Linked DNA regions of Homo sapiens: regions 1, 2, 3, 4, 6 and 7 are each linked to region 5. Evidence: promoter capture Hi-C in 16 types of primary human blood cells and fetal thymus (Javierre and others, 2016). All regions are on one chromosome and are shown on one strand. The core of a region is centred on a gene start or on the middle of the fragment in contact, and the rest is flanking DNA. Distances in the headings are between cores, read along the strand shown.

Region 1 (2,700 bases), core at 165-2,664, 930 kb after region 5:
ATCAACATAGCTCTATTCCAATAAAACTTTGTTTGCAAATAGCAGCAAGTTCAATTAGAAGGTTAAGAAATGGAATGAGGAGGCTTCTAGGACTAATCCCAGTAAGAAATAGTGGCTGGATCAGCAATAGTGAATAGGGAAAGTCATGGATGGATGGATCTGAGAGAGCTTTAAGAATGGTTAAGGAAAGATTGATAGTAGAAAAACTGCAAAAGAAAGATCAGCATTAGATTGGATGTAGGAGACCTCAGGAATGGCAAGGGCTAAAAATATTTCATCTGGAAGACAGTGAGTTGAGAAGTAACAGTTTCTTAAACTAGGTTATTTTATCTGTAATAAATTTTTAAGACAGAAAATGAAAATCCTAAAACAATAACCCAAGTACTGTGAAATAACCCAATCCCTGTGAAAGGCAGGCAAATGGGCCCCAGATGGAATCCCTTGAATGAGCTTATTATAACCATATATTAAAATCAGGTCATAAACTAGCAGCCTCAAGATATATTTCGTTTTGCCCAGCCACTGTTTCTTTTTAAACAAATAGGAACATCACATGAAAATTCAGATTTCCTGCTTCTCTTGAAGAGTGTGACTACAGTTGACATCAGCTGGCACATACTGACCTGTTTTTAGCCCCCTGCTGCCCTCATTCACTTTACCTGTCCAAATCCTGCAGGAATCTGACTTTGTAATTCCTGCTTTCTAGAGAATGGAAAGGTAACTAAAACTAGTATAAATGCCAGAACGAGGTACAAAATGAGGTACAAAAAAGTTGGAAAACTTCTCGATAATGAGAAAGTATAGGCAAACAGACTTCCAGTTTTGTCCATGAACCCTGGTAACTCTCCGAGCAAGTAGTGTGGTGCCAAGGGTGGTCACCTGGTGGACACCGGGGAAATAATTAGAAACAGAATCTCCCACCACCCCAGAAAACCTCTCCAAAAAAAAAAGAAGGGTAAGAAACAGTTTTATTACTGAATAAGTATTAAGCCAAACTGATGTTCAATCACAGGCTAATTTGCTAAGAGATAGCAAAGATAAACGCTCACCCTTTAATATAGCCAAGCGGACACATTCCAATACAATTTGCTAAGATAAAAGATGGCTAATGACAAAAATTCTCTCCTTGACCAAACTTTAGTTAGGTTTAGGTGGGCCTGACTAGGCCTTGTCCTTAGGCATGTCTTCCAATAGCCCGATTTTAATAAGAGTCATGCTAAGTGAGCTTAGCGAGAATCCCTCATCCTGATACATGACCACTCTTGACATCTGATCTGAGTTCTCATTCTCTACCATCCCCCAGGTAATATGTGACCGCCCTGGCCTACCTTCAGCAAAAGTCCTGTTAGATCAGTTTAGCCAAAATACCACCCACTTACCCTCATGTTTCCTCTCAGTAATTTTTCATCCACTGACCACCCCCCACACACCCTGCTCCTTGGCTATAAAGCCCTACTTTTCCTTACTATATTTGGAGTTGAGCCCAATCTTTCTCCTACCACTGCAAAACTCCATCACATTAGTCCCTGTACCTATCACAACAGTCCTGAATCAAGTCTGCCTTACCATTTTAACAAGTGTCATGAATTATTTTTTCTTTAACACTAGTCCTCAAATAGGAAAACTTGAAACCACCATTTGTCACACACATAGTTTATCCTAAACTTACTTGGTAATAGGGATGGCCACCTGTGTTAACTGCCCTTCTCTAAAGGAGTAATAAAACTTTTCATACCTCTGTGACAGGTAGATAGTTACAAATTGGACGCAAACACCTAAGTTAAACTCTCCTGAGACTGGGAGATAGGTGAGCTATCTTCCTTGATGTTTATATTTGAAATTGGTGACTCTAGGCCCTTAAAGAAAAGTATTCCTGAGCTATAAAACTGGCTTATTAGGCCTTTAGAAAGACTTACATTCATTACAAAGGCACAGAGAAAGAATTCCAAGTTTTCTAAAGGAAAACTCCAAGAAAAGGAAGGAAAGAAGTTTTCCTTTATTCATCAAGGACAACTAAATTTTTTCTTATTTATTTCTCTTTACCTTTACATGAACAGCAGCTCAGCTTCATGCACTACAACATAATCACTTTTATGAGGGCAGTATCTTTCTCACAGAAACATGATCTTAATTAAGAAACTACCAGAAAACAAAAATGGTTCAATACCTTCATAACTTCTTCAAGATACCGTGTTGAACTTCCATTTGCATATGCAGTTTGTACAACACCAATATTCAAACTTTCTCCAATCTAGACAAAAACAATGATACTTAACTTGCCATCAAAAGTATGGTCTACAAAAACAAATATAATGAGAGTTCTAAAGGCTACCAAAATTATCAGCCAGTTCAGTTGTGCCTTAGTTTATGCCAAAAATGTCTGACTGAAAATTTACATGTATGCCAGGAAAAAAGCCTAAAATACATTTGAACACTATTTAAAACAATTCTATGAGAATTCCTCTTTTAAGAAGCCTGTATCTCCTGATCTTCACCTCTTTAATTTTTTAAATAAAAGTATCTGGCCAGGCACGGTGGCTCACGCCTGTAATCCCAGCACTCTGGGAGGCCAAGGTGGGTGGATCACCTGAGGTCAAAAGTTCGAGACCAGCCTGGCCAACATGGTGAAACCCCATCTCTACTAAAAGTACAAAAATTAGCCAGGTGTGGTGGCATGCATCTGTAATCCCAGCTACTTGG
Region 2 (2,700 bases), core at 89-2,588, 910 kb after region 5:
TGTGTGTACCATACATAGTTGTTCTTCCTTATTTTTTTAGGATGTAACTCACAAAATAGTGGATGCAATTGGTGCAATTGCTGGTTCTTCTCTGGAACAGACAACATGGCTGCGACGAAATCTTGAAGTTAAGCCTTCTCCCAAAATAATGGTAGATGGAACCAATTTGGAATCTGATGTTGAAGGTATTCTTGTCAAACATTTAGGTTTATTATCTGTAAGCAGGCATATATTTACTAAGAAATCATTTTGCCTAGCACTATAAGTACCACAAATTTATCCCTTTTCTCATGTCTAACAAGTAACTTTTTTTCAGTGGGAAAAATATATATATACATATACATATATATATACATATATAAAAATAATACACACACACACACACACACATAAAATTTATTTTCAGTGGGAATTAGCCATATCTTTAATTTTCTCTTATTTATAGATATGTTATCACCTGCAATGGAAACCGCAAACATAACTCCTTCTGTATATAGTGTCCATGCATTGACATTACTCTCTGAGGTAAATATTAAGCTTTTTCACATGAACTCTCAAGTAGACTGTTTCATTATTAAAAATTAGCAAGTAATTTTTATAGAGGAATTTCTAATTTGAGAAACTATTTTGTGCTTCTAGAAATCACTATATAGAATTAATATAAAGTTTTGGCCTTGTATGTATTTGGATTATTTAGTTTGCCAAACATTAGTGATAAATTTAGATACTGCTTCCCTTCTCCATGTCCTATTCTTTTTTATGTGTTTTTTTCTTTTTCTTTTTTTTTTTTTTTTGAGACAGTTTCACTCTTGTTGCCCAGGCTGGAGTCAAGTGGGGTGATCTCAGCTCACTGCAACCTCTGCCTCCCGGGCTCAAGCTATTCTCCTCCCTCAGCCTCCTAAGTAGTTGAGACTACGGGTGTGTGCCACAATGCCCAGCTAATTTTTGTATTTTTAGTAGAGACGGGGTTTCATCAGTTTGGCCAGGCTGGTCTCGAACTCCTGACCTCAGGTAATCCGCCCACCTCGGCTTCCCAAAGTGCTGAGGTTACAGGCATGAGCCACCGCGCCCGGCCTGGGGAGGGGTGGAGGTGATCTAAAGCCTGCCACTATAATGTATTTTACAATTTACCAAACATTTTCATGTACATTGTCTGACAGGTTCTTTTTTATACCCTATTATACACATGTCATTTTGTTTCCTCTTTGCAGATGTGGATAGTGACCTTTACAAAGATCAGAACAATAGGACTAAGGCCAAATAGCTGTTAATTGACAGTGTTGGAATTTGAACAGCCCAGTTCAATTGTTTGTTTTTTTTTCCTAAACTACATTTTAGCTGAGTCAGGGAAAAAGAATACTATAGTTTCTAGTACTAAATTCACTGTTTACTCACTGTCACAGAAGGTTCTTGAACTCTTTTCTTTTTTGTACTTCCCTATCTCAGTTGGAAATGGCAAGATTTGCCCATATTTATATCCTATAGTAACAATGTACAAAAAAGCAGATGGTGGCAAAACTCATTAACATAAAAATGATTCAGGAAGATTTAATTTTAGATTTTTCTAATTTTAAGTAGTCTAGGTTTTCTAACAAACTGAAAATCAGTACCTTGGGATGATGTCAGTTTCACCTCATATGTTACTCTTCATTTTTTATGTTTTCATAGGTTTTGGCTCATCTTTTGGATATGGTTTTCTATAGTGATGAAAAGGAGCGGGTTATTCCTTTACTTGTAAATATTATGCATTATGTTGTGCCCTACCTCAGAAATCACAGGTACTATCATTATTTAAATAGTTTTTAAAATTAATTCATAGCCTGTTAGAAACAAGTTCTGTTCCCTTATTGCCATTTCTAGAATTATCATAAAATGGCATTTTTACCTTGAATTATAATTGTTTAAAAAAATTCATATATTATTTTTCTTATGGTGCTTTCTATTTCATATCTTCATGTCACTGTCTTAGGTAAATGTGAACATTTATGTATAACTTGATAGGATGATTAAAGTTAGGACACGTAGGTTAAGGTGGTTTTTCTTCCTTGTAGTGCACATAATGCCCCTAGTTATCGAGCTTGTGTCCAGCTGCTCAGCAGTCTTAGTGGGTATCAGTACACACGGAGAGCTTGGAAAAAAGAAGCTTTTGACCTCTTTATGGATCCCAGTTTCTTTCAGATGGATGCCTCTTGTGTTAATCAGTAAGTTGCCCTCTTATTTGTATTCAGCATGATGCACCTCACAGTCTGATGAAATCAGCTACTCCCCTGGAAAGTTAGAATACTGTTCTTTAACAGTAACAACATAATTACATGTTGTAATCCTTATCTCTTTCAGTTGGAGAGCAATTATGGACAATCTGATGACACATGATAAAACAACATTTAGAGATTTGATGAGTGAGTATTACGGGATGACAATCCAAGTTCTTTCCTGTACATGGTTCCTTCTTACTATTTACTTGTACTCTTTTCTGGAGACTAGGAGACTACTGAATTAGCTCTTTGTCAAGTGTCAGTGGGGATATGTGCTCTAGGGAAAGCACACTACTTTCTGTACGCTATGGGAATATAATCTTAAAATTTACAGAGGACAACTTAAGTGATAAGTAATAAGTAAAACTATTTGTCCTTTTGCAGCAACTAGTGGAGGGAAGGGTCCATGTCTAATTTGAATCTAAATTATTTCCTCAGTACACAG
Region 3 (2,700 bases), core at 25-2,524, 960 kb after region 5:
TTTGAAGCTGTTTTATTAAAAACATAGAAAGAATTGTGTCTTTTAATGACTGACCCATTTATCACTATCTCTACTAATATGCCTTGCCTTGAAGTGTGCTTCTCTTATATTAATAGAGCTACAGCAGCTTTCTTGGGCTTACTCTTTGTATGAGATATCTTTTGCCATCCTTTTACTGTCAAACTTTTTGTGTCATTATATTTAAAGTATGTCTCTTATAAACAGCATATAATTGTAGGCTGGGAATGGTGCCTCATGCCTATAATCCCAGCAGTTTGGGAGGCTGAGGCAGGAGGATCACTTGCCCTCAGGAACTTGAGACCAGCTTGGGCAATATAGTGAAATTTCATCTCTATAATAACAATAAAAATATATATAAACAGCATATAATTGGAGCTTTAAAAAAATCCAATCTGACAATTTTTGCTATTAGAGTGTTTAGTTCACTTACATTTAACATAATTACCAGCAAAGTTGGGTTTATGTCTACCATCTTGCTATTAGTTTTATATTTATCCCAGGAGTTAAGCTCTTACGTTCTTTGTTCCTCCTTTATCTTTCTTTTGCATTAATCAAGTATTTCAGAGTTATTCTATTTCTTCCATTAGCTTTTTTTTTTTTTTTTTTTTTTTTTTTGAGACAGAGTTTCACTCTTGTTGCCCAGGCTGCAGTGCAATAGTACAATTTCGGCTCGCTGCAACCACCACCTCCTGGGTTCAAACAATTCGCCTGTCTCAGCCTCCCAAGTAGTTGGGATTACAGGCACCTGCCACCACACCTGGATAATTTTGTATTTTTAGTAGAGATGGGGTTTCACCATGTTGGGCTGGCCTCAAACTCCTGACCTCAGGTGATCCACCCACCTCGGCCTCCCAATGTGTTGGGATCACAAGTGTGAGCCACAGCGTCTGGCCTATTAGCTTTTAAACTGTATGTTTTTTGTATTATTTTTAGTGTTTTAGAGGTTATAATATTCTTCCTTAATTTATTACTATATTCCTTGAATTCTTGCAATACATTTTAAATTGTTAGGTTCCTAGATTGGTCATGAAGTGGTATATTACTTGCTACAGTATTCCTTTTATAATGGATGTACCATTTCATGAATAATGTATAAAACATACAGTAGTATACTTCCATTATTAATCCCCCTTCCACCCCTTGTCCTACTCTAGCCATACATTTTACTTCTACATATTTTATAAACCCCACATACATTGTTATTTGTATTAGTCAATAGTCTTATATGAATTTTAAAACAGTATTTTATATTCTCACACATCCACCTTTTCTGGTGCTTTTCTTTTCTTTCTTTCTTTCTTTTTTTTTTTTTTGAGACAGAGTTTTGCTCTGTTGCCCGGGCTGGAGTGCAGTGGTGCAATCTCGGCTCACTGCAACCTCCGCCTCCCAGGTTCAAGCAATTCTTCTGCCTCAGCCTCCCAAGTAGCTCGGAGGATAGGTACCTGCCACCATGCCCGGCTAATTTTTTTTTTTCTTTTTTGGTATTTTTAGTAGAGACGGGGGTTTCACCGTGTTAGCCAGGATGGTCTCAATCTCCTGACCTCATGATCAGCCCACCTTGGCCTCCCAAAGTGCTAGGATTCAGGCATGAGTCACCGGGCCCAACTCTTTCTGGTGCTTTTCATTTTTTCCCACAGATGCACGTTTCCATCTAGGATCATTTTCCCTCAGACTGAAGAACTTCCTTTAGTACTTCTAGCAGTGTAGGTCTGCAGGCCATGAATTAGCTCAGATTTCATTAGTCTGAAATGTCTCTATTTGCCTTAATTTCTGAAGGATATTTTCTCTAGGTATAGAATGCTAAGTTTTAGACTGGGCGCGGTGGCTCACGCCTGTAATCCCAGCATTTTGGGAGGCCGAGGTGGGTGGATCACTAGGTCAGGAGATTGAGACCATCCTGGCTAACACGGTGAAAACCTGTCTCTACTAAAAATACAAAAAAAAAAACCAAATTAGCCAGGCATGGTGGTGGGTGCCTGTAGTCCCACTACTTGGGAGGCTGAGGCAGGAGAATTGCTTGAACCCAGGAGGTGGAGGTTGCAGTGAGCTGAGATCGCGCCACTGCACTCCAGCCTGGGCGACAAAGCGAGACTCCGTCTGGAAAAAAAAAAAAAAGAATGCTAAATTTTATTCTTTTGGCACATTAAAAATGTCTATTATCTCATTTTTCTGCCGAGATGTTGGCTGTCATTCTTATTGTACTTCTGAAGGCATTGTATACCTATTTCATTTGGCTGCTTTTAAGATTTTTCTGTTTATTTTTGATATGCAATTTGATTATGATATCCCTAGGTATGGTGTCCTTTGTATTGATCCTACTTGGGGCTTGCTAGCTCTATCAGTTGATGCTTTTCATTAATTTGAGAAAATTTCTTTCCATTATCTCTTCAAATATTTGTACTCCAGTATCTCTTCTTTCCTTACAGGACCCAGTAGCACGTATATTAGACCACCTCATTTTAGCCAACATCTCTCTCTCTCTTTTCCTTTCTTGCTCTCTCTTTATGCTTCCATTTGGAAATTTTCTGTTTATGTTAGACAAAAACCATAGGATTATCTCAACAGGTGCAGAAAAGGCTTTCAATATAACTCAACATACCTTCATATTAAAAACTCTCAGTAAACTAGATATTAAAGGAACATACCTCAAAATAATAAGAGCCCTCTATGACAAACCCA
Region 4 (2,700 bases), core at 140-2,639, 870 kb after region 5:
ATCTCCTGACCTTGTGATCCGCCTGCCTTGGCCTCCCAAAGTGCTGGGATTACAGGTGTGAGTCACGGTGCCCGGCCACATCAGAAATACTTTAAGTGAATCTTTCACTCTATTATACAGAATATTAAAAGACATGCACTCAAAGGTTGATACTTATTTTTTGATTTTACTGCAAGTACATGGCTGTGAAAATATAATGATTACAAGTATAGTAGGTGCAGCTGCTATGCTGCCTCTTTTCATGCTAAGGTGCCAGCAGTTTTATCCACTATTGCATGATCAGGGCATATGTCAACAAAACAAAAAGCCCAATAACATCTTTGTATTGTTATGAATATGCATAGTTTTATTTGTTATGAATATGAATAGCTGGTTTTTACTTTGTGCACCCCCTGAAAAAGTCTTAGAGATACCTAGGGGTCTTGAACCATACTTTCAGAATTGTACAGATCAATAGAAGGCATTTGTGTTCAAAGGAGTGAACCTAATTCGTCAATTGTTGGTGATCTGTGTTCTGTATCATCTCAGTTATTTCTCTAAGGTTCCTTTAACACAAATGAGCTGGGTAAATCCTTTCTAATTCTATCAAGAAGCATGATATAGGACAAAGTTCACTGGTCTGTGATTAAGGAGAAGTGAGTTCTCCATCTAGCTGGGGCACTAACCAGGCATTTGAATTTGGCTAAGCACTTAGCCAAAACCTCAAGAACCTGTGAGGTTTAGATTCTTTACTTATAGAGTGGTTGTTAAACTAGTCAGTTTCCACATTATCATCTAATTCTCAGATTCCAAGATTATATTGTAAAGTGATTATCTGGCAGTATTCTTAAAATTAATAGCAAGTTAGTTGCTTTTCTTCTATTTTGATTTTTATAAATTTACCTCTTTTAGCTAAAACCCAGATCTCCTTTAATCATTTTTTTAAACGTTGAATTAAGGATATTGGGAAAAAAGAAAAAAATTATTTCTCTTAAAAAGAAATGGAACAAAATGAGAGAAAAATTAAGATTGTTAAAGCTGGATGATTGGTAGAAAACGGTTTATTATTTTGTTTTCTGTATTTTTTGATATGTTTAAAATACTACAAGATAAAAATTTTTAAAAAGAATAAAGAGTGGATGAAGATAGTAACCTTCTCAGGAGTTTATAGTCAGTTGACAACGTTATAAATGTGAAAGACTAATGGCATATCATTTTCTTGTGTCTGTCCCATCTTGCTTCATTTTATTTGTTTTATGTCAGAATTTGCTTTTATTATATAGACAAAGAACTTTAAACTGTAAGTTAAAATAATTAAGTTATAGTTTCAGTTATGCAGCTAAATAGCCATGTTACCTAACTTTCTTCCTGTTTCCTAATCTGTAAAATGGAAGTAATATCCTGTGTTTGAAATAATCCATGAAAGTACTCCATACACCCTAATATTCTAAGCATATTTCAGGGCATTTTTTAAAGAGGAAAAAAATAATATATATTGTATATTGCTAAGTACAACCATATTCCTAACTCTTTCAGGCCACTCGACCGGATATGATCAGGATCTTGTCAGCAGCCCTTCATGTAGTGCTAAGGAGGGATATGTCTCTGAATCGAAGACTTTATGCATGGCTTCTTGGTAGGTATTTGATGTCTGTGGTCATGATTGGGGAAAAAATGGAGGGAGATTTGTCATGTATAAGTATTACCAAGTTGTATGTATGTCCTGAATTTAAAAACTAAAATCTCTTGTGTAAATGGACAATAAAAATATAAACAGTATTAGTTGTGTATTGTATGAAGAAATTTCAGCAGCTTTATATTTGAAGAGTCTATTTGAATTCATAAAGTCATGTTCCCTTGTCCTTAACAAGATGTTTTTCCCCTTACAAATTGAGATGGTTGTATATAAGTTAGTAGGCAAAGAAGGATGAGCTAATAATCAAAATACTGTCCAAAACTTTGAATTCATCAAAGGAATCAGGACTAGTACCATTGTCTTACACATCATACAGTGTCCCACTCAGGCAGTAATACATATGTACACTTTGGTCGTCCATGCTTTTTGTGTGTTTTGTCTGTCTTCACAACTCTTTACTGCCTAGAGTGAGGGGACATAATATAACTTATTGTGGATGTTCTGAGTATTCAGTTATTTCACTGTTAGTAAAATTGGCCAAAAAATAAAAAGGATAATTCTGGAAGAATACTATGATACTTATGTATTGAATTGGTTTCCCTTTATTAAACTATCTAAAATGATCTCTCTTGCTGACATTGAATGGGCTACTAATTGGTAAGTGTTTAGTGCTGTTCTGAGATTTTGCTGTTTTGGTATTTAGTGAACAACAGTTTTGAGAATTCCATTTTAAGTAATTTTGTGATTTGTTTCCATGGAGGTTTTGATAACAACGGTGCTATCATAGGACCCAGAAGCACAAGACACAGTAATCCTGAAGAACATGCCACTTACTATTTCACTACCTTTTCAAAAGAATTATTAGTCCAGGTAATGAATACTTTTATTATTCTTTGGTTACTTACTGACCACTAGAGGTAGTGAAAAAGTGTAAGACGAGGTCTTGCCTTAATTGAATTCACAGTTGAAGGGGTGGAGACAAGACTTACAAACTTCCCAAGAATTTTTATAACAAGAAAATTCCTGTAAAATGATAATCATATGTTAGACTACCATGTAAGACAAAAGACTTTTTTTCTCTTACT
Region 5 (2,700 bases), core at 201-2,700:
TAGCTGGGATTACAGGCACACATCACCATGCCTGGCTGATTTTTTTGTATTTTTGGTAGAGACGGGGTTTCACCAAGTTGGCCTCGAACTCCTGACCTCAAGTGATCCGCCCACCTTGGCCTCCCAGACTGCTGGGATTACAGGCATCTTTTTTTTTTTTTTTTTTTTTGAGATGGTGCCACACTCAGTCGCCCAGGATGGAGTGCAGCGGCGCGATCTCGGCTCACTGCAACCTCCACCTCCCGGGTTCAAGCAATTCTCAGCCTCCCCAGTAGCTGGGATTACAGGCGTGAGCCACCGCGCCCGGCCTAAAAAATTTCTTGAAGTAAACTCTGGTTTGACTAAAGCTTCTGCAAATATTTGCAAATGTAATTATTTTTAGAAACCAGTTTTGTCCTCATCTACCTTGCCTCAATTTCTAAAACAAATAAAAGTTAAGGAATTCAAAATACAAAAAGAGAAATGATCAAGAGGGGGCTGGCAAGCCTGTGAATTTACACCACTTTATGGGCACTGAAACACTACTACTCATAAAAGTCATATCCTTTCAGTATTTCTGATAAATTTCAAATGGCCTACTTCGAGGCATAAGTTAAAAGGTGCTACATGAATCTCTGGCTAACACAGTCAAGTTTTATGAACTACGTTGGAAAACAGGAGTCAAGGACGGCCTATGTTACCTAATTCGCAGCTGAACTAAAACTCTTTGAGCCAGACAGCTCTGCCTGTTACAAAAACAAAGGGCCTGTCTTCTCTGTCTCTCTCAACCCTCCACCCTCCAAAAAGAATCAGTTCCTTTTTACATAGCAATCAATGTCCACTTATCAGATTTCACGACCTGCTTCCCCAGAGTCAGTATCCCCAGGGTGGACTCAAACTTGTGACTCCAGGAAGGGGATAAGGAACATGAGCGCCCACAGGAATGGCTTCAAATCCAAGACTCGAAGGAAAGTGACACTACATAACTATCACAACTAGGAATGCAATGTCGCTGGAGGGCGTGTCCAGCAGGACGGGAGCGTAGCGCATCGCCGGGACAGGCCATTCATTAGCTGAGGGGGGCGGTAGGGACCCTGGCCACTCGGCCCTCTCCGCGCCGCCTCGCGCGAAGCCCGGCAGCCTCGGGGCCACAGAGTCCCCTCCCCACGGTCCCCCCGCGCCGCCGTCCGCAGCCACCCGCACCCTCCAGAAGGCGAATACTCTCCCCCTGCCCCCGGGCTGAAGGGAAGCCGCACCGCACGGTCGGGCAGCGCCAAGCCCTCCCTCACCAGTCGCTAGATGAAACTGCGCCGGTGGATTCCGCAGGGTCCACATAGAGCCACAAAGGGACTCATCCTCAGTGAAGGCAATAAGAGAAACCGAACGGCGCCAGAGGGGCCAGTCCCCAGACCCGGGTCAGTTCGGCAGGCGGCTGCAATACAGCCGCTACTACAGGAATCGGGAACGGGGATGTAGAGGAAGGGCCCGAGCGGGCGGTTCCCAGTAATAAGGCGGGCGCTGGTTGGCTGGGGCTCCTGTATGTCTCTTGATGATTGGCTGGTGCCTGCCCAGAAGGTTTCGCGTGGCAGCACCTCTGCCATGGCCTTTTCCCTGGCGCCCCAAAGGAACTTGACCTCGCCGGCCTTGGGGCCGCTGACTCAGGCCAGGGGCGGGGAAAAGAAAAAGGCCGCAGCGGGGAACTCTAGGCCAACAACGGTGATGGGAGTGTCCCTTTCAGGCCAGCCATCTCGTAGTTAGAAACGTCTCTCTAGGTAGCTGGAGACTCGCGGGGGAGGCTAAACCCGAGTGGAGAAGGAGACCTGGCAGGATGCCTTGGACACCCGGTCGCTACGCAGCAGAAGCCAAGTGCATAGGCGTCCTGCACAGAAGAGTTTCCTCCCATGGCCTTAGCAGTGGGGTTACTGCAAAGCCAAAGGTGTAGTCTCCGTAAACCCAGCCTCACCCCTCTCTGGATCTCCATACACCCGGATTATCTGGCAGTCACTCCCTTGGTCAGAAGGCGTCACTGCCCTCTTAGATCACCACCGTAGGACTAGCTGCCGACCCGGGTCACGCCACTCACTGCCTGACACCAGGCTTACACTAGGCTTTTTCCACTTGAACTCTGAATCTAAAGGCCATTTAGAAAGTGGTCAAGTGAAAAATGCTAGGAGGGACAGTAGCCAATAATCAATACTAGGTTACTGAATGGGAAACACACTGCTGCTGAATGCCTAATACGGTAAGCACTCAGTAAATGATTGTTCAAGGAGGTGTAGTGTGACTCAAAACAAACGACACTAAGAATCATGAGTTGGCTGTACAGCTCTGCCACGTTGAGTTTTACAAGCCACTGAGTCGACCTCATCTAATCTCTAAAAGAAAGGAGTTGCGCATGTCTTAATGCCCACTGAGCTCTGCTTGCTCTCTTTTGAAGCCTTTTTTGTGGGAGGGTAGGTTACTAGCCCAAAGCCACACAGCTGCTTAGCGAAAGAGAAAGGGAGACTAGGACCCAGCCCTCCTACTGCCCTTCCCAGCACATAATTGTTTCTTTGCTCTTTATTCTTAATGTCCTTCTACAAAACAAAAACCAGTTTGTAATGTCAAAATTGAGTGGTTTTGAAAATAAGCTTAAGTTGGCCGGGCGCGGTGGCTCACGCCTGTAATCCCAGCAATGTGGGAGGCCGAGGCGGGCGGATCACGAGGTCAGGAGATCGAGAC
Region 6 (2,700 bases), core at 134-2,633, 980 kb after region 5:
CTTTAAAAAGGCATGAACTTGGCTGGGCGCGGTGGCTCACGCCTGTAATCCCAGCACTTTGGGAGGTCGAGGAGGGTGGATGACTTGAGGTCAGGAGTTGGAGACCAGCCTGGCCAACATGGTGAAAGCCCATCTCTACTAAAAATACAAAAATTAGCTGGGTGTGGTGGTGGGCACCTGTAATCCCAGCTACTCAGGAAGCTGAGGCAGGAGAACTGCTTGAAACTGGGAGGCGGAGGTTGCAGTGAGCCGAGATCGTGCCATTCATTGCACTCCAGCCTGGGTGACAGAGCGAGACTCCATCTCAAAAAAAAAAAAAAAAAAAAAAAAAGGCATTAACTAGGGCCTGTTAGGTGCTGCATTTCATATTGCTAATCAAAAGAACATTTGTCTGTGATGGTGAGAGTGGACATCTAGTTGAGAGTATTTAGGCTTCAAAGTAGGAATCAGAAACCCTAAACAAATAAAGCATCACAGTCTAAGAAATCTATTTGAAAAGTCTAAAGCATCAAATCCCCAAGGCATAGTTTAAACGATGACAGAATGGGTTTTAACTTTCATATCTCTTGGATCTAGAGTCTAAATAATGATATTAATATTAACCTATTTTTAGCAAATGTCATAATATACCTTTTAGTTGTTCTTAAAGTTGTATAACAGAAATTCAACCTTCTTTGAGAGACAAAAAGATGAAAATAGATGAGGCAGAAAAACAAATTCTCATCTAGCTGTTTATAAGACACTGTTATGTTTTGCACAGAATTCGGTTTTGTTTTCAGACAAGTCTGATACCTTAAGCTCTTTAGCAGATAAAACATTTTGTTATAAACAACTTTCTAATGTAACTAAATTATTACTTCATATATAAAGGTTTTGGAAAATTATATTTGAGAAAGAGGCCTGTAACATTATATATATATATATATATATATATATATCTCCCCCACTCCTGCACTCCCACTCTTCCTGCCTTTCTATAATCACCATATTTTAAGGAGAAATGTCATTAAATAAATGACAGTACTGTAGCTAGCTAAATATTCTCATATATATATGTTATTAACATGGTGAAGGGAACCTTCCCATACCATTTTTAGATTATATTTTTATGGTTCAATAGTCTTTCTGTATATTGTAACTTAACCTTTCCTATCTTCACCTGTGCCTACAGTAGCAGAAACTCACATCCAGCAACAGGCAGACCTTTCCTTTTTCTCCAATCCTTTAGCCAAACCAGTGTCTAAATTTTCATCCTCAAAATAACTTTCAATGTTTTATGTAGAAAAACATAGAACATTAGGCAAGATGATAAGAAAGAGTTGAGGCATACATTTATATCAGACACATTCAAAGTTTAAAATACAACTACATAAATTTGGCTAATTTTGTTTATGTGTGTTATAGATAAGTCTCTTAACCCTTGAGGCCTGTTGAGATATATTAAGACAAAATAATTAATTAAACACTTGTTTATTATATGCCTAGTAGGTGCAAGGCATGATGCTAAGACTTGGTTGTTGCTGAAAGGACTTTTTTTTCCTTTAAGGATTTAAGGACTACTGAATAATGTGAGGCAAATTCCCCAATCTAGAGATGAGATAAAAATTAAAATCAGTGAGAACACTGATGCCATCCCAAATAAGAGAGATAAACAATGGAGTGGCTCCTTGCCAAAAAGAAAAATCACTAATTCTAGTATTGAGCATTTAAGGATATATGATTAAAATAGAGCCATTAAGTTCCAGTTAATGCAGAGTGACATAGCGTTCATGTTTACCTCTCTAGTTCATTTTGGATTTCTTTCCAAAATAAACATTTTAGATAGATATGACTCAACCTCTATTTTGTTGTAATGATATTTTAAAGTCTTTGAAGGGAAAAAAGGCTCCTTTCAGCATATCAGCCAAATACATATTAGTACAAACATGGTATAAAATAAATCATAGTAAAATGTTGAAGCATTGAGGACTCCTATCCCAGTCTGGCTGGATGTCAAGATAGTTGCCCAAATGTTCCACCCATAGTACCAAAACCCAAACCCAGGATTTAGCAAAGCAAAAATAAGGTTGTGGTTTTACATTGTATGCTTCAGTGTTTGGGAATAGCTAGTTAAAAGCTATTTTAATAAGCCTCTAGAACCAAGCTGCTTCCTTTCTATTTAACTTTTATGTTTAAATCTTAGATATCTATTTCCAAATCACTTGTGGAAAATTATCAGTAAAACATTAAAATATGTATTTTATTTTGTTGAAGAAGAGGATTTATACAACATTCTAGAAAAGGAAATAGTTCTTATCCCTCTGATTTGTGTGCTTTTCTTTCCATTTTGGTTGTATAATTTTTAAACTTAAACAGTAAGCACCTTAGATATCCTAGGCCTCCCTATAATGAATAAAAATTTGATTATTAAAATATCTGTTATAGTTTTACTTTACCTTGGTTATTTTGTAGCACTGCTCTGCAGAACATTCTGCTTTGCTAGTTGGATTACTCAAAGCAAAAATAATAGGCCGTTCATTGAAGGCAGCCATATCTTTGAGAATTTGTTCTGAGAATGCACCACCAATTGCAGCAACTCCTAATGAAGAAATATGAAGCTGGTAATTAACACTATCATTGGTTAATTCACACAAGAAGACCATGCCTCAAATCAATGATATCTATCAGCTCATTTTCTAATAGACCCTAAACAAAATGCTA
Region 7 (2,700 bases), core at 92-2,591, 890 kb after region 5:
ACCCATTATTATATTAATCTTTTTCCAAATAATCTCAAAAGTAGTTTAATATTTTTATTGTAAAAATTATTTTTAAGTATTTAAATTTTTGAGTCAAACCAGCTTTATAAGTGATGAAAAACTCATTTGGGATTAATGTATCATTTCTGGGACAAAAAATATATAGTGCAATGAAATCAATTTTGATAACTAAATGTTTATATTAAAATGAAGGAGGAAGTGCTTTCTGGACTCCAGATATATGTACATTAGTAACTTTTTTCTCCTGTTATACAATAATATAGTAAACTAATTACTTAAAGTCTGAACTCAGGAATAATTATTTATGAGACAGGATGAGATGATCCTTTTAAGTTCAATATTTCTGTATATATTTACATATTTTCTGTGTTTCTACTGCCATAAAGAATATAAATAAAGTTTATTGCAATGTGTGTTTGAATATTGTGGACGTTGAACGTAATACAGTACTCCTAAATAGTACTCTGATTTTACTAAAATCATAGTATCTTCAAGAGAGAAGAACATAATTTAAGCTCCCATGTTTCTCCTCAGAAAATAAGGATGGAAGCACATGCCAAGTTTGCAGTTCTTTGGCATCTAACGAGAGATCTCCATATAAATAAATCTTCATCTTTTGTACGTTCTTTTGACAGGTCAGTTACATTTTATATTAAGATTTCACAGTCATATATCTTAATGTTGCCTCTTTCCTTGAGTCCACTGTCTAGCTTGGCAAGTGTAGGAGATAGCAATTTACAAATTTTATAAAGAGAATTTATTATTTTGAAAACCGTAAGCTGTATTAAAATGCATGGCATTTTTACTCATCCACCAGGTTTTTACTTTCTGGTTTTGGAGTACCCGGCTCCACTTCCCTTCCTTGGACAACTATTCATCACGTTCCTGATAATGTTAGTGATAGAGCAATGGATACAGCTCTCTTGAGACTATATTCACATTTAGTGAAACTGCATATAGATAGTAGATTATGTGTTTCTCAAGCAATTATTTTCAATCTTCTGCCTAAACTAGATTTATTAAAATCTATAGCTGAAAACACTAACAGATTCTTTCCATGAATCCAGAGAACTTGTAGCTGCCTGAGAGTGGTTTTGGTTTTTGTCTGGACTACGTAGGTGACTTCAAATATCAGATCTGCATTAAATTCCAAGGAGCTGCCATTTTTAGGTGGATTCATATATTGTCATAAGGTAGTCTCACCAGTTGGTCTCATACTGGTGGCCATGAATCTATGTTCAAGGTCAGCTCAGGATCAGATGTGTCCTCTACTGAACGTTATTTCAGCTGGTGCTTTTCAACCAGCATTAGCATTTTAAGTCATCTGATACTGAACCATATATTGAACCCCTACAATGTACTGAATATATTGAACCTTTACTTTATAAATAATCATCTCTTATTTGACAACCATCTTTCCTAATTTTACAAGTGAGGGAATAGAGGTCAGGAAAAGTTGTTACTTGCCCAACACCACACAAAATATTTGAATCTTGGGTTTTTCTGATTCCAAACCACACTTTCATACCTTCCACAGATCTTTCCTTGAATTAAGCACAGAGCTTTGGCTCACAAGGAGAGTGTGAGCAGAGGAACATGGACCAACATGGAGTAATGCCGACTTGCCGAAGGCTCAGTGCTTGATAATATGAACAGGAAAATGTTGCTAAAACAAGACTAATCATATTTTTTTTCAGTTCTTCAGTATTAATCTTAGTAATGTATGCCTGTGAAATTTCAAAGCATGAGTATATTTTTAAAAGGGCAAAAGGTTTTTTTCCTTTCTTATACCCACCGAGACTATTGGGATTAAGATTATTAAAATACTATGATCAAAATTTATCCTGAAGTATGACTACTTCAAAATAGTTAATTCAAAATAAGAAACAGAATTTATTAATTTTATAAAAGAGTGTGACAAGGTAGATGTTTGGTTCTTTATTTTAATTATTTGTGTTTATTTTAGGTCACTGTTCATCATGTTAGATAGCCTTAACAGTCTCGATGGTTCTACTAGCTCTGTGGGACAAGCCTGGCTGAACCAAGTCCTACAAAGACATGATATTGCACGAGTTTTGGAACCATTGCTATTGCTCCTGCTTCATCCAAAAACTCAGAGGGTTTCAGTACAGCGTGTACAAGCAGAACGTTATTGGAATAAGTCTCCCTGTTATCCAGGAGAGGAGAGTGACAAGCATTTCATGCAAAATTTTGCCTGCAGCAATGGTGAATAACACATAGAAGTAGACAGCTTTATTTAGAATTATTAAAATAAAGTGATACATGAATACAACAGTAATTGTTGAAAGAACTGCATGTGAGATTTTCTCCATGGGCTTATTTTCTCCCCTCCTCATGCACTAGCAATGCTGTGTGGACCATGTCAGAATGTACTTTGTCAATGACCATCTTAGAGGATGTGGGTCTCTCAGTTGACTCTTTCAGGGCAGGAATCAGGCACAGCTCTGATTAGAGACATTCTTCAATTTTGATGGAAATATCTTTAGAGCTTAGTTAGCAATTCTGGTCCTACAGGCTCTGTAGATACTTCATTGGGAATTTATAGTAAATCTGTAATGCACATTTTGTATTTCATGAGTCATTTTCCTCATCTTTTAAGAGAAGAATAATGCTCAACTTTCAAGGTTTTATTATGACCATCAGATGTAGTCATGTTTG

The links. Contacts are between HindIII fragments. The CHiCAGO score rates a contact against its expected background, and 5 or more counts as called.
Region 1: a contact is called between a fragment that was not itself captured here and the fragment with the promoter of IBTK in region 5, in 13 of 17 cell types (total CD4 T cells, monocytes, M1 macrophages and 10 more). The highest score is 17.1, in total CD4 T cells.
Region 2: a fragment that was not itself captured here is called in contact with the fragment with the promoter of IBTK in region 5 in 11 of 17 cell types (M1 macrophages, M2 macrophages, M0 macrophages and 8 more); the score reaches 11.6 in M1 macrophages.
Region 3: a fragment that was not itself captured here is called in contact with the fragment with the promoter of IBTK in region 5 in 14 of 17 cell types (total CD4 T cells, naive CD8 T cells, M2 macrophages and 11 more); the score reaches 18.6 in total CD4 T cells.
Region 4: a fragment that was not itself captured here is called in contact with the fragment with the promoter of IBTK in region 5 in 9 of 17 cell types (M2 macrophages, naive CD8 T cells, activated CD4 T cells and 6 more); the score reaches 16.9 in M2 macrophages.
Region 6: a contact is called between a fragment that was not itself captured here and the fragment with the promoter of IBTK in region 5, in 3 of 17 cell types (naive CD8 T cells, naive CD4 T cells and M0 macrophages). The highest score is 8.5, in naive CD8 T cells.
Region 7: a fragment that was not itself captured here is called in contact with the fragment with the promoter of IBTK in region 5 in 13 of 17 cell types (M2 macrophages, total CD4 T cells, activated CD4 T cells and 10 more); the score reaches 19.3 in M2 macrophages.

The regions. Positions count from the first base shown.
Region 1 is chr6:83,176,506-83,179,205 of GRCh38, forward strand. PGM3 (phosphoglucomutase 3) reads right to left here. Exons shown (of 13, transcript NM_015599.3): 8 at 2,168-2,251. Among named protein-coding and RNA genes, the nearest start is that of PGM3, 15 kb to the right of the region's middle. The HindIII fragment of the contact is 3,063 bases long and covers 1-2,700 here.
Region 2 is chr6:83,151,843-83,154,542 of GRCh38, forward strand. DOP1A (DOP1 leucine zipper like protein A) reads left to right here. Exons shown (of 39, transcript NM_015018.4): 29 at 41-185; 30 at 446-525; 31 at 1,669-1,778; 32 at 2,052-2,201; 33 at 2,338-2,399. It also overlaps a transcript of PGM3 not described here. Among named protein-coding and RNA genes, the nearest start is that of PGM3, 40 kb to the right of the region's middle. The HindIII fragment of the contact is 1,606 bases long and covers 536-2,141 here.
Region 3 is chr6:83,204,003-83,206,702 of GRCh38, forward strand. No RefSeq gene overlaps it. Among named protein-coding and RNA genes, the nearest start is that of RWDD2A, 12 kb to the left of the region's middle. The HindIII fragment of the contact is 9,001 bases long and covers 1-2,700 here.
Region 4 is chr6:83,117,373-83,120,072 of GRCh38, forward strand. It overlaps DOP1A (DOP1 leucine zipper like protein A), which reads left to right. Exons shown (of 39, transcript NM_015018.4): 8 at 1,516-1,615; 9 at 2,376-2,485. Among named protein-coding and RNA genes, the nearest start is that of DOP1A, 51 kb to the left of the region's middle. The HindIII fragment of the contact is 4,542 bases long and covers 1-2,700 here.
Region 5 is chr6:82,246,294-82,248,993 of GRCh38, forward strand. It overlaps IBTK (inhibitor of Bruton tyrosine kinase), which reads right to left and starts at 1,451. Exons shown (of 29, transcript NM_015525.4): 1 at 1,269-1,451. RefSeq lists a silencer at 1,084-1,253. The HindIII fragment of the contact is 2,262 bases long and covers 346-2,607 here.
Region 6 is chr6:83,224,900-83,227,599 of GRCh38, forward strand. It overlaps ME1 (malic enzyme 1), which reads right to left. Exons shown (of 14, transcript NM_002395.6): 11 at 2,436-2,578. Among named protein-coding and RNA genes, the nearest start is that of RWDD2A, 33 kb to the left of the region's middle. The HindIII fragment of the contact is 4,407 bases long and covers 1-2,700 here.
Region 7 is chr6:83,133,632-83,136,331 of GRCh38, forward strand. It overlaps DOP1A (DOP1 leucine zipper like protein A), which reads left to right. Exons shown (of 39, transcript NM_015018.4): 19 at 556-656; 20 at 1,988-2,247. Among named protein-coding and RNA genes, the nearest start is that of PGM3, 58 kb to the right of the region's middle. The HindIII fragment of the contact is 8,956 bases long and covers 1-2,700 here.